Linked DNA regions of Homo sapiens: all the other regions are linked to region 1. The links are contacts of gene promoters, found by promoter capture Hi-C in blood cells and fetal thymus (Javierre and others, 2016). All regions are on one chromosome and are shown on one strand. The core of a region is centred on a gene start or on the middle of the fragment in contact, and the rest is flanking DNA. Distances in the headings are between cores, read along the strand shown.

Region 1 (3,920 bases), core at 736-3,235:
CATCCTTCTATGATATTTGGTTCCACAGTAACCCAGCATAAAATTATAAGGCTATATTCCTTTCTAAATGAAACTAATTGGAGATTCTGATATGTAGCAAAACAAACTTCTCCAGCTACATCTCATATCCAATTCCACTGGATTATGGAAGATCCAACCAGGTTTTAAATGATTCTAGAGGACACAGGAAACTGATGTTACAACAATATCGGGTTTTTGCGTTTATTTCTTCTGAGAAAAGCTATCTAAAATCTAAGTCAAAATCTCAAAATCAATCCACAGTTAAAAGAAACAAGATGTAAAAGCAATCTGGAGGGATATTTAAGATGAAAAACAAAATTAAAACAAGGCCCAAATGATGTGGCCTATGGCTCCAAACATAAAATATCCTTTTACACTCCCTCCCCACAGCGTAAGTCAGACCTTCTGAGTGCTGGGGTTACTGATGATTATACTAGAATTGAGCTGAACTAAAGTAGAACCGAATAAAGGGCAAACTTACAAACTTAGGTGAGAAATATCTACAAAGGTAGACACAAAGAAAGCCTTTCTCTCTTCCCATAAGGTATGCTATCCCTGCCCCCTTCTTCACACAAAAATAACTGCAATTTTAAAATAAAGTTTAAAGAACACAAGCTGCTTAGGTGTCTCAAGTGCAAAGAACTACTGACACGGATAATGTTAACGACTTTCAACTGCCTCTCATCTAATAGTATCTGTGCAATAAAGTCCAAAACACATCTCAGAAGGAAAAATCTGTTAACTCTAGGAGCACTTCCATTTGTCTTAATTTTGTTGTTTATCTTGTCATTGTTTTTCATATTCATGCCTAAAACAGAGCAAATGTTAGTTAGCAGCAACCAGAACACATCATCCTACTGCAGCAGGTGGCAAGAGCATCCTCGGGAAGGTGGGGAGCTGCAGCAGAGGTGAGCAGTGAAAGCAGCTACTGATGCCTTAAGGCTAAGGCCATAGGGACAAGCATGACAAACAGGCACAACCTCACATTATTTGTTCCCCAAATCCCTCCTCCAGAGTGGATCAGAATAATCGTTTCTCTACCACTGGTCAAGGCCAGACGTGGGTTTTCAAAGACTCCATATACTTGCTTTGAAATATCCTTAGCTTAATCCAAAACCTATTTGTGGGAGGACTCTGTGAGTGCCTGCCCATTACACTGTATCACCTAAAGCTGGTCCCGAAGGTATTAGTAGGAGAGAGATGTGGGATTTCAGAACACCAAGGAAGCCTATTTTTTAAAACGTAGACAAAAAAAAATATGGAGGCAGGAAGGCGGGAGGCAGTGATCTATGAGATTTGAAGCAAGTACAGACTGAGCCCCAGTACTTAGCCAGGTCTAAATCACGGTTGTGAACGCTTTCTTGCACCTGAGCTGAGGAAGAAAAGTAATGCTACCCACTTCCCTTCTTTCCATCAACTCTATATGTGGCAGCAGGACACACCCCCTGCGAACCTACCAGCCTCCGTCTAAAGAGGATCTTGCCCATCCTTTGGCGTCCACCCTTAACCAACGCTCTGGAAACGCCTTGGTAGCCCAACTGTCTTCTCTCCCCCTCCTGACACCCCCCACTCACCTCTAGGCGGTCACAGCTGCCTCTCTGGCACCTCCAACTCCTCTGTCGTTAGAATACCTAGACCTCAACGCCCTCTCGCGTTCTCCCCTCCGCGACTCGCCTGTGTTCTCGGATCTTCTCAGATCCGCTACGGTCGGCCTCAGGTCCCTCACGAGGGAACCCCCGCCCGGCCCCGCTCACGGTGCCCCATCCTCCCGGGCAAAGTCCACGCCTACGTCCTGACCCAGAGCCCCAGCTCCTTCGGGCCTAGTCAAGGACACCGCCTCTGTCTGGCCCACACCCCGCCCGCGGCACCTCCGCAGCCCAGTTCTACTCCCCAGCGCGGGACACTCACCAAGCGTGACCGAGCGGCAGCAGAGGAAAGGGAGTGAGCCACGAAAGGACAGTCCGCGGCGCCTCCCCTTCGCCACCAGCTTTATAGCCGCCAACCCACCCGACTCCGGCACCGCCGAGAGTCGCTGGGAGGCGGGACGGTGGCTCCCACAGCCAATCGCGGCCGGTAGAGTTGCCCGGCAGCGCCCGCCCCCCAGTCCGGCTTCTACCAATCAAAAGGAAACTAGAGGCGATGACTCGCTAGGATTTTCCCTCGTGGCTGGAAGGGCGGGGAGAAGAGGCGGGGACAAAGTCTCAGGGCCGAGGAAGTGGTGTGAGAGACTGACGTGAGGTGGCACGAGAGCCCAGTTGCCAATGACGGAGCTGCGAGATACGGCGAGAGCCAACGGGAGCGGAGTGAGAGGTTCTCCGACCAATTGGGACTAAGTGAGAGGAGATGCGGGCCAATGGGTACTCCGCGTCCCACCGCTGGAGAGATGGTCAAATGTGGGAGGCGAGGTGGTCCCAGCTTGGGAGTCTGTCAGGTTGCCTAGCAACCAGAACTAGGCTTCACCTGAAAGATTTCTGAAATACTGTACTTGATTTGAATTCAGTCTTAACGTTTTCTAGCAAAGTGTGCGTAGATTGCAAATTGGAGCAGAATACTTCACCCAGAACTTGTATATGTGTAAATAGTCTAAATACCCGATTTGTAAATACTCAAATATTGTCTCCTTTATTCAAAACTACCTTGACTTAAAGAAAACAGAACAAACAAAAGTGCTCTTGAGACAAAGCTTTCTAACTAAACCTAAAACAAAATGGTTTCAGGATTAGGCATCCGTGGGGAGGGTGCAGAGCCTTGCCTGTGAAGGGAAGTTGATACTGAATTCAAGGATTTTTGCCAGGCCATGCACTCTGAGGAAAGGGACTCCATTTGGCCTGTTGCCCACTGTATCTTCTAAGCTTCATATGTGGTACCTGCCAAGTAAAAGGCTGTGGAAAGGCCACGTAATTGTCGGCATAGTAAATCCATCGGATACGGACTGCCTAACTCCCCCAGCAAATAGAGAGGAGCAATTCAAGCTAGAGGAATTCACTGAAACACTATTTGGGGGAATCCAAAGGAGGACACTTGTGGCTTTGCAATAAACTCTGCCTCTATCTGGTCAGAGAGAGAAGCCATAATACTTAGCTTTGGTGGGGGACCATGAGTGAGGTTCGGAGTTGTTTGTATCTCTCCCCATCTCAATTTAATTAACAGGAATGCTATTGATAAGGGGTCATTGGTAATTCTGTGATTCACACAATTATTGTTATGGGAGATTCTTTTAACCACTATAGATGCTAACCTAGTAAGACACATTCTCAGCAGCAAAGTGGCAAAATATATTGGAAATGGAACCACTGTGAAGTGGTGGCATAAATGACTTGGGGGAAGAGGACCACTCAGTAATGATTTCCATTCCACAGTATTGCCCATGACTCACTTCATATGTATGTAAAGTAACTAGATAGTAAACAGAGAGAGAGACATTGCCTGATTATGATCAACAGCAATTTGGGGTGGGGTAGGAGATTAAAATTCTTGGCATATTGGAATATGCTGAAAGGCAGTAAGGACAAACACAAGAAAGAAGATACAGTTTTGTCGTTAGGAATCGCAAATAATTCCAACTCCAGGAGTACATAATGGGAAATGATTAGCCAGACGGTCATGAGAATGACCATCTTACACAACCGGAAATTTCTACAAGGAACAGACCGTCTTTTTGATCACGTTAATCTTCAATTAAGCAAAGTGAGCATGATTATTGATTACTGGGAAGCCAAGCAATGGAGAACAAAAAGGGTTAGTAATTAGATACAGAAGATCTTGTTATAAATAAAGTTTCCATGCTGCAAAAGAAATAGCAGTCGAATATAAAATTTTCTTTTTAATTCTCAGCAAGGCAAGGTACTTCTATAGAAGGGTGCACCCTTACAGATGGAGCAATGGTGAGTGCACACTTG
Region 2 (3,920 bases), core at 248-2,747, 7.1 Mb before region 1:
GCCGCCCGGGGGCGACCTCCCCGCACCACACGCTTCCCCGAGGTCGCTCTTCTCCCGCCCCCAGGCTAACTCTATCGGCCAATCAGAGCCCGCGGCGGCTCCGGATCCGAGGGGCCGCGCCATTGGCTGCGGCCTGAGAAAGAGGTAGAATTCTGTTAGGCGATTGCGTCGCCCTGAGGAATCCAGCTGGATCCGGTCTGAGGCGGCGCGGGGCCAGCGGGTGGGGTTTTGAGCGGCTGGCGGGAAGGCAGGTTCCTGGCATATGCTCGCTTGGGTTCTGTTCTGCAGGCCGACCACGTGCCCATTGGTTTATTTGACCAGGGTCGGTGTGATAGCTGGTGTGTCTGGGGCCGGGCTGGGGGCTGAGGAGGCGGACCCGGCTCCTGCTGCACCGTGTGCGTGGCTTGGCACGAAATCCTCTCGGCGTGGGACCCAGTGCCCGCCCCGCTGCCCCCTGCCCCCCCGAAGAGCCCTACCTATAGGACAAAGTCCAAATGAATTAGTTCTTTGAAAGCTTTTAACTGGAAAGGAGTGAGTTAAAGCAATGTTTGATGACTATTGATCTGGCTTTGGAATCTTGGGTAGCTTGGGAGGCAAGAAGAGGAGGAAGGGATGCTGTTGGGATAATGACCCGTGGAGTGATCAGGACCTGGGCTGGGGTGTGACGAGAACAGAAGGAAACGTCCCATTGTAAGGGGAGAACCACATGGCAGTGCACATCCTGCTGTTCAATTCCGCAGCTCCTTAGATCCCCTTCCCCTGGCACTGTGTTTGCTCCTTTGTAGTCCTGGCGCTACGTCGCTTCTGGACTTTGGGCAGGTTACCTCATCTTTCTGGGCCTCAGATTCCTCATCTGTAAAAAGGGGGTTAGGGTGACCCCAAGGTTCTACCAAGTCCAAATCGATTCAGTGAATCTATGACTCTCCTCACGGGCCCACCAGCACCAGCGTTCATTCGTGGGTTCCCGCGGTGTGCCTGCTGTGTGCCAGGTAGTGTATTGGACTGGGAGCATACACAATGAAGCCCGATAGGTGTTTACTTGGTAAAGTTCTACCACTGACCCGTTCTCACCAAGAACTTTCCCTCACAGCAGCTGCTAATAGTGACGTGTAGTGTAACAACCTTAATAACCTGAGCTTCTAGAGGTAACATCTATAACTATCCTCAGACTCCTTTGTAGTCTTACTATTTTAAACTTCATTAGCATTAGGAAGGAAAAAAAAAAGGGAGAAATCACAGATGACGCTTAGGTTTGAGGCCAGGGTGAACAGGGGAATGTTAATTGATCCATTCGATAGAGAAAAAAAAATGCGTAGGGAGAAACTGTTTGGGATCAAAGTCTGAGTTTTGTTGCTCATATTTGAAATCTCGGACCTCATTTCTTCCCATTTCACAGATAAAAACCCAGATTTTTGACTCTCATTTCAGCTGCAAACATATACATTGACATCTCAGTTGGAATAGCCCTTTGTCCATAGTTATTTTGCGTCTCATCTTCCACCTCCTCAAAAATAGTGTTTCTGAAGGCATCCTCTCACAGGTATCTTGAATTTTCCCTCCCAAATGAGTTTGCCTCTTCAGTATTTAAATATGCTCATGTCTATGACATCTTTAAAATTTTTCTAAAAAAACAAAACAACCTCTAAGCCTTTGTTTTTACATATTGCCTGCCTTACCTTTACAGCTGATTCTCGAAAGAGTAGTCTGTTCATCATTGCCACATCCCTGCCTCCTAGTCATTCCTCAACCTGTTGTACACTAGCTTCTCCCCACTACTTTGCTAATTACTGCTGTTTCCAAGGTGACCAAAAGATCTTGTTGGAACTCAAAAGACTTTTTTCAGTTCTTTAATTGATTGATCTTTCCAAAGAATTTGAAATGGTTATCATTTCTTCTTGAAATCTTTTACTGTCTCCCAACATACCAGTCCCTAACAGTGTTTCTCCCATCTCTATGTCCCTTTTTGACTTCTTCCTAAACCCATCTCCAAGATGTCTTCTGTCCTCGTCTCCTTGTCTCTTCTTCTCCGTCTTTTTTCCTTCTCTCTCTCTCTCTCTGTCACACACACACGCTCCTGAGTTCATTCAGTGTTGTGTAATGGAAGGATCTTGGTTCAAATCTCAGTTTTATTGTTTATTAGCTTTGTGAAACTTGAACTGGTTGTTTAACCTTCCTGAGACTACTTCTGCATTTATAAAATATAATTGCTACCTTGTAAAATTGTGAATATATGCACAGATGCTTAGCACTGTGCCCATTACACAGTAGACACTTGGCAAATATTAGCCCCTTTCATGACCTCAGCTATTACTGGCATCTTTAGCCCAGATCTTTCTCTTGAATTTCCAATCCTTATCTAGTTTCCTTTTAGATAATGTCTCTTAAATCTTACACATGTAACACACATTCGTGGAGATTAAATTAAATTTGAGTGTCACTGTAGGCCAGGCATCCTGCTAGGTGCTACAGATGAAATGATAAAAAGCTTCCATGCCCTTGAGGAGCCTAAAGTCTATGCAGTGATAGAGTTATACACAGAATGCTGAGAAATTTGGAGGAGCAAGTCTCAAGTCAACCTAACAAGAGTTAGAGAAGGCTTTTTGGGAATGTGAAGAGCTAAGCCTTAAGTAATGAATTCAATATTAGCCATTATCAGCAAGAATGAGAAGGAAATTCCACAGAAGAAACACCATGAACAAATGCATAGAAGCAATGAACTAGCAATTTTGAAATTTTAGAGAATTTAGAGAGAGGCAGGCAACATGGGGAAGTGAGGCTAGAGAGGTAGACAAGGGTAAAGACAATGGAAAATGTTAAATCCATGCTTAGGAACCTGCCTTTTATCCTGCATATATTAGGAGGCAACCAAAAGGAGAAAATGACATGATTAGCTTTGCAAAAATTGTGAATTTTTTTTTTTTTGAGATGGAGTTTCGCTCTGTCGTCCATACTGGAGTGCAGTGGTGCAATCTCAGCTCACTGCAACCTCCGCCTCCCGAGTTCAAGGGATTCTCCTGCCTCAGCCTCCAGAGTAGCTGGGACTACAGGTGCGTGCCACCAGGCCTGGCTAATTTTTTGTATTTTTAGTAGAGACAGGGTTTCACCATCTTAGCCAGAATGGTCTCGATCTCCTGACCTCATGATCCACCCACCTCGGCCTCTCAAAGTGCTGGGATTACAGGTGTGAGCCACTGTGCCCAGGCGTGAGCAGGAATTTTTTAGAAGAAACACAAACAGTGAATAAATACTTGAAAAGATAACCTTATTGGAAATTAGAGAAATACAAATAATGTCATTGTGAAATAATATTTTATATCCACTAGATTGGTAGAAATTAAGAAATCTTGGTAACACTCTGTTAGAAAACTTATCCATATCAAGTCTTGATTAGGCTAAACATTAGCTAATCATTTCAATAATTCTTCCTTCCAGTGCCATAGTTTACAAATATCTTTTTTTTTTTTTTTTCCTGAGACAGGGTCTTACTCTATCCCCTAGGCTGGAGTGCAGTGGCACTGCACCGCATGGCTCACACAGCTGCAACCTCCCAGGCTCAGGCAATCCTCCTACCTCAGCCTCCCAGGTAGCTGGGATTACAGATGCGTGTCACCATGCCCTGCTAATTTTTTTTTTTTTTTGAGATGGAGTCTCGCTCTGTCACCCTGGCTGGAGTGCAGTGGCACCATCTCGACTTACTGCAACCTCCGCCTCCCGGTTTAAGCAATTCTCGCCTCAGCCTCTCGAGTAGCTGGGATTACAGGTGCATGCCACAACGCCTGGCTAATTTTTGTATATTTAGTAGAGACGGGGTTTCACCATCCTGGCCAGGCTGGTCCTGAGAACTCCTGACCTCATGATCCGCCTGCCTCGGCCTCCCAAAGTGCTGGGATTACAGGCGTGAGCCACCACGCCCAGCCACC
Region 3 (3,920 bases), core at 567-3,066, 6.6 Mb before region 1:
CAGGTGGAATATCCTGTTACCTGGCTAATTACTCCCAGGCCCCACCATGTTCCTGATGGGCTCATCTTGCTATTTTCTCTCCAGAAGAGGAAGTATGAGGTTGTGTGAAAATGTGAGCATGTGTGTCCCCTAAGATACCTTTCCACGCTTCTTTCCCCTTGCCCCAGCCAAAAGGTCATCCAAGGAAGTTGGGGGATAATCAGGCCCAGAGGTGCCCTGGACCAGACGTCCCATGATCTAGCATACGCAAAGGAAGACGCTAAGAAAGTACACATGGAGAAGACGAGGGATACAGGGTGTTTCTTTCCAATCTCTCTGCTTCTTCCAGCAAAAGCCCCACCCTCTAGCCCTCAAGCCTGCTGGCCTCATGGAGTGTAACTAATCCACAGCAGCATCCCTCCTTCTGGGGACACAGTGTTGGGTAAGGAAGTGTAGGGGAGCCAGAGTCTTTGAAACCTTATCAGCCTAAAATCTCAGGGTTACACACAAGTCAGAGGCACTTTCTGTCACCCCTCCTTCTGACCCTGGTCCCACCATTCTCTCAGGTGGAACGCTCCCACCATGCTCTCCCCCTCTATGTCCCACATTAGTCCAAATGTTTCCTTCACGTCATCTCTCATGTCTATAGCTTTCCACATTCGCAGATTCCACCCTAATTCACATACCAAGATTATTACCAGAGACTCTGTTACTGGATTCCTTGACTTTCCCATCAATTATTCTATCTCTCTCCTTCCAAATGACTATCCCTAAGTATCATTGTCTTTGTGCCAAGCTTAGGTACCAACCTTCTGTAGTTCTCATAACCTACAGATTATGATGCAAGGAACTATTAATAGCACAGATTCTGGAGCCAGTCTCCTGGAGCTCCAATCCTGGTTCTGCCACTTATTAACTCTGTTACTTTAGGCAAGTTACTTAACCTCTCTGTGCTTCAGCGTCCACCTCCTAAAATAAGATAAGATAGTAAATACCCCATAGGATTGATCCGAGGATTAAACAAGTTAATACAGAAGTGTCTAAGCAACCAGGAACTGGTAGCTATTATCACTCTTGTTACCGAATGTGGTCCCAACTTCTCAGCCCGGCATCTATTGGTGCATACAGTCAGTACTCTGAAACTACACTCTTGAAATTGTAGATGCTATCCTAGGGGTCGCTAGTAGCTTCTAAAACAAATTAGAAGCCCACTTAAGGTGATAGTCATGGTGGCCAATGAGTCATTCTCTGCTCTCACAGAGTAAAGATTTAATTTGAACTAAGAACCTTAGAAGAAATACAGAAAGCGGGCGAGGAGAGGTGGTTTTTCCCCTCTGCTGTTCCTGGGGACACATGTGATGCTCTGAGAAGGCAGAAGGGAAGATTCGAGCTGATTATAATCTAATGAGGCTGCCAAATCAGTTTCACTTTCCAATACCACATAAGGACTGGTGAGTCTCATGGGCCCTGAGCCAGGATTATTTTAACTGGTAGCATTAGCTGGGTCAGACCGATCAGCCTCTATGGGGAATACTTTGGGAACTGTCATCTTCCAAGCCAGCGCAAGAACAGCCTCTGCCACTGAACTGATGGTGATACACACGGTATTTGGAGGGCAAATCTGATTCACATGCAGTAGCAGGAGATGGAAGAGTGGTTAAAATGAAAGGGAGAGGAGAAGAAGAGCAAGGGACGAGCATAATACAGGGAAAGAAGAATAATACAGGTAGAATAGGAATTACATAGAAGGGAGAAGATCATTTTTTAAAAAAAATAAGGGCCAGGCATGGCAGCCTATAATGGTAGGCAGCACTTTGGGAGGCCATGGCTGGAGGACAGCTTGAGGTCAGGAGTTTGAAATCAGCCTGGGCAACATAGCAAGACCCCCATCTTGACAAAAAATACAAAAGTTAGCCAGATGTGGTGGAACACACCTGTAGTCTCAGCTACTCAGGAGGCCGAGGCAGGAGGATCACTTGAGTCCAAGGGTTTGAGGCTGCAGTGAGCTATGATCATGCCACTGCACTCCAACCTGGGTGACAGAGACCTTGTCTCTAAAAAGTAAAGAAATGAAATAGAAAATAAAAACGAATGGTAGAAATAAAAGGAACTGAGTAGTAGGGGGCAGAGGCATGTCTAGGGGAGAGAACTAGAACTGCCAAGGGATTTGAGTGCCTGATGGATTCTGAAGACTGAAATATACATGACCCCAAAAAGCAATGTCATTTGTAAATATTTGTTAATGAGTTTAGTGAAGTGCTACATGGAGGAATGATCTAGCCAATGAGAACAATGTGCACCAGCCAGTTGGATTCTTGAAGCTGCAGAGACTTCATCTTCAGCCACAGCAGGTGGCTGAGGGCTAGAGTTACTTGGGACTTTCCCCAATGCTCTAGTTCCTTCTATCTCTTGGAAACAAGTCTGGCTCAATATGTTCAGCAGCCCCATTGATGTTGCCCAGAGGAAGTGTGGATCAGGGCTCGCTGACCCCAAGGTTAGCAGCAGAAGAGCAGGGCCTCTGCCTCCCCAGCCAGGAAGCCCACAGTCTTGGCCACATGAATGAAGGAGGTCTTGGCAGCATCTGACACACCTCGGGGTAATGATTTAGCCACCCCAAATTACCGTGTCTCCACAAAATAGTCACTTGGGGCCACACTACATTGTGGAGAGATAATGAAAGAGCTTCTATTTTTGAGCTATCTTTTCCTCATATGCGAATAATTTCACACACAAAAAAATGAGAAAACCACTTCTCTCTGTCACCTACAGAATCAGGAACAGGGATCAGATTATCTTTTAGATACCCGCCCCAAAAAGAAATAAAAATCAAGAAAACATGGGTAAATACCATGGTGGACATTTAAATGAAGCTGAGAAAGAAAGCTTTCTCTATTTAGAGAAGAATTCAAAATGGATGGCAGGAGATTTGTTGAAAATAAGGAAGAGGGAGGGAAAGGTTAGTAAATAATAGGTCAAATCTTCAGCCTAGAGGGCACTACTAAGTTTTCTTTTGTTCCCCCTTAGGTTTCCTGGTGTAGCAGTGCAGTTGCAACGTAGTTTTGTTTTTTGGGTTTCTTTAAACCTAGAGTGGTAAGAGGGACTTGGTGGCGATGGACTGCCATGGGTCGGTTCCTTAGAGGGCTCTTGAGTTTTTCCCACCTGTCTCCAACTCCAGGGCCACCACTCTAATAAAGCCACTGCCATCTCTGACCAGCTCCCCTGCTGTGGCTTTCACTCTTGCTCTCTTTACAGCCCATTCCACACAGCAGCAGCCAGCATGGCACTTCCCGTTCTGGGCCCCTCCCACTGACTGCACCCTGTGCTTGTCCTTCATAGTGTGTAAAGATCTGTATGTGGGGTGATTTGACTAACGGTTCTCTCCCCTTAAGTATAAGTAAACCTATGAGGGCAAGGACTGCTTACCTTAGCATCCTTGGTTCCTGGTAGGATGCCCATCCCATAACAGGCTGGAGCTCCTGGGTGTGTGGGAGGGAGTAGGAAGGAAGCAACAGCTGCCAATCAAAGGCCCATTTGGGCATGTGACCCTTAGCTAGCCAATCAGAATCCTTTCCAGGGTTGTAGCAGTTGAAGCTGTGAGCAGCTCAGTTGGTTGGGTTGTCTGTCTTGTCTTGGCTTGGATTCTCCCAGAAGGAGATCCTGAGTCAATGATTCGGGTGCAAGTAGATTTCTTCTGGGAGCCTTTCTTTAATAAAGCACTTGCACCTGAGTCATTGACTCAGGATCTATTTCAGGATCTCCTTCTTGAGGGAGAGGGCGAAACAGGATCCAGAAGAAGCAAAGCAATGGAGCAGGCATGGCATCAGGAAGAGGACAGGGAGGCTGCCGTAAGCCCAGCAGGCTCCCTTTCAGGCTGTTAAGGAGGGGGATGAGTACGAACATGAAGGTGGCCCAAGTAGCTCTAAGGTCCCTTCTCTCATCTC

What was found. The method cuts DNA at HindIII sites, captures the fragments that hold promoters and counts their contacts. A CHiCAGO score of 5 or more calls a contact.
Region 2: a fragment that was not itself captured here is called in contact with the fragment with the promoter of HMGCS1 in region 1 in 2 of 17 cell types (total CD4 T cells and naive CD8 T cells); the score reaches 8.8 in total CD4 T cells.
Region 3: a fragment that was not itself captured here is called in contact with the fragment with the promoter of HMGCS1 in region 1 in 1 of 17 cell types (total B cells); the score reaches 5.5 in total B cells.

The regions. Positions count from the first base shown.
Region 1 is chr5:43,311,427-43,315,346 of GRCh38, forward strand. HMGCS1 (3-hydroxy-3-methylglutaryl-CoA synthase 1) reads right to left here and starts at 1,986. Exons shown (of 11, transcript NM_001098272.3): 1 at 1,930-1,986. RefSeq lists enhancers at 1,756-1,895, 2,146-2,375, 2,382-2,898, 2,899-3,413, 3,508-3,920. The HindIII fragment of the contact is 3,835 bases long and covers 1-2,702 here.
Region 2 is chr5:36,242,116-36,246,035 of GRCh38, forward strand. The region is part of intron 1 of LOC124900962 (a long non-coding RNA gene); the gene reads left to right. It also overlaps a transcript of NADK2 not described here. Among named protein-coding and RNA genes, the nearest start is that of NADK2, 2.2 kb to the left of the region's middle. RefSeq lists an enhancer at 135-334. The HindIII fragment of the contact is 1,971 bases long and covers 513-2,483 here.
Region 3 is chr5:36,721,712-36,725,631 of GRCh38, forward strand. It overlaps SLC1A3-AS1 (SLC1A3 antisense RNA 1), which reads right to left and starts at 3,477. Exons shown (of 2, transcript XR_007058736.1): 1 at 3,403-3,477. RefSeq lists enhancers at 2,055-2,104, 2,115-2,164, 2,205-2,474. The HindIII fragment of the contact is 2,087 bases long and covers 774-2,860 here.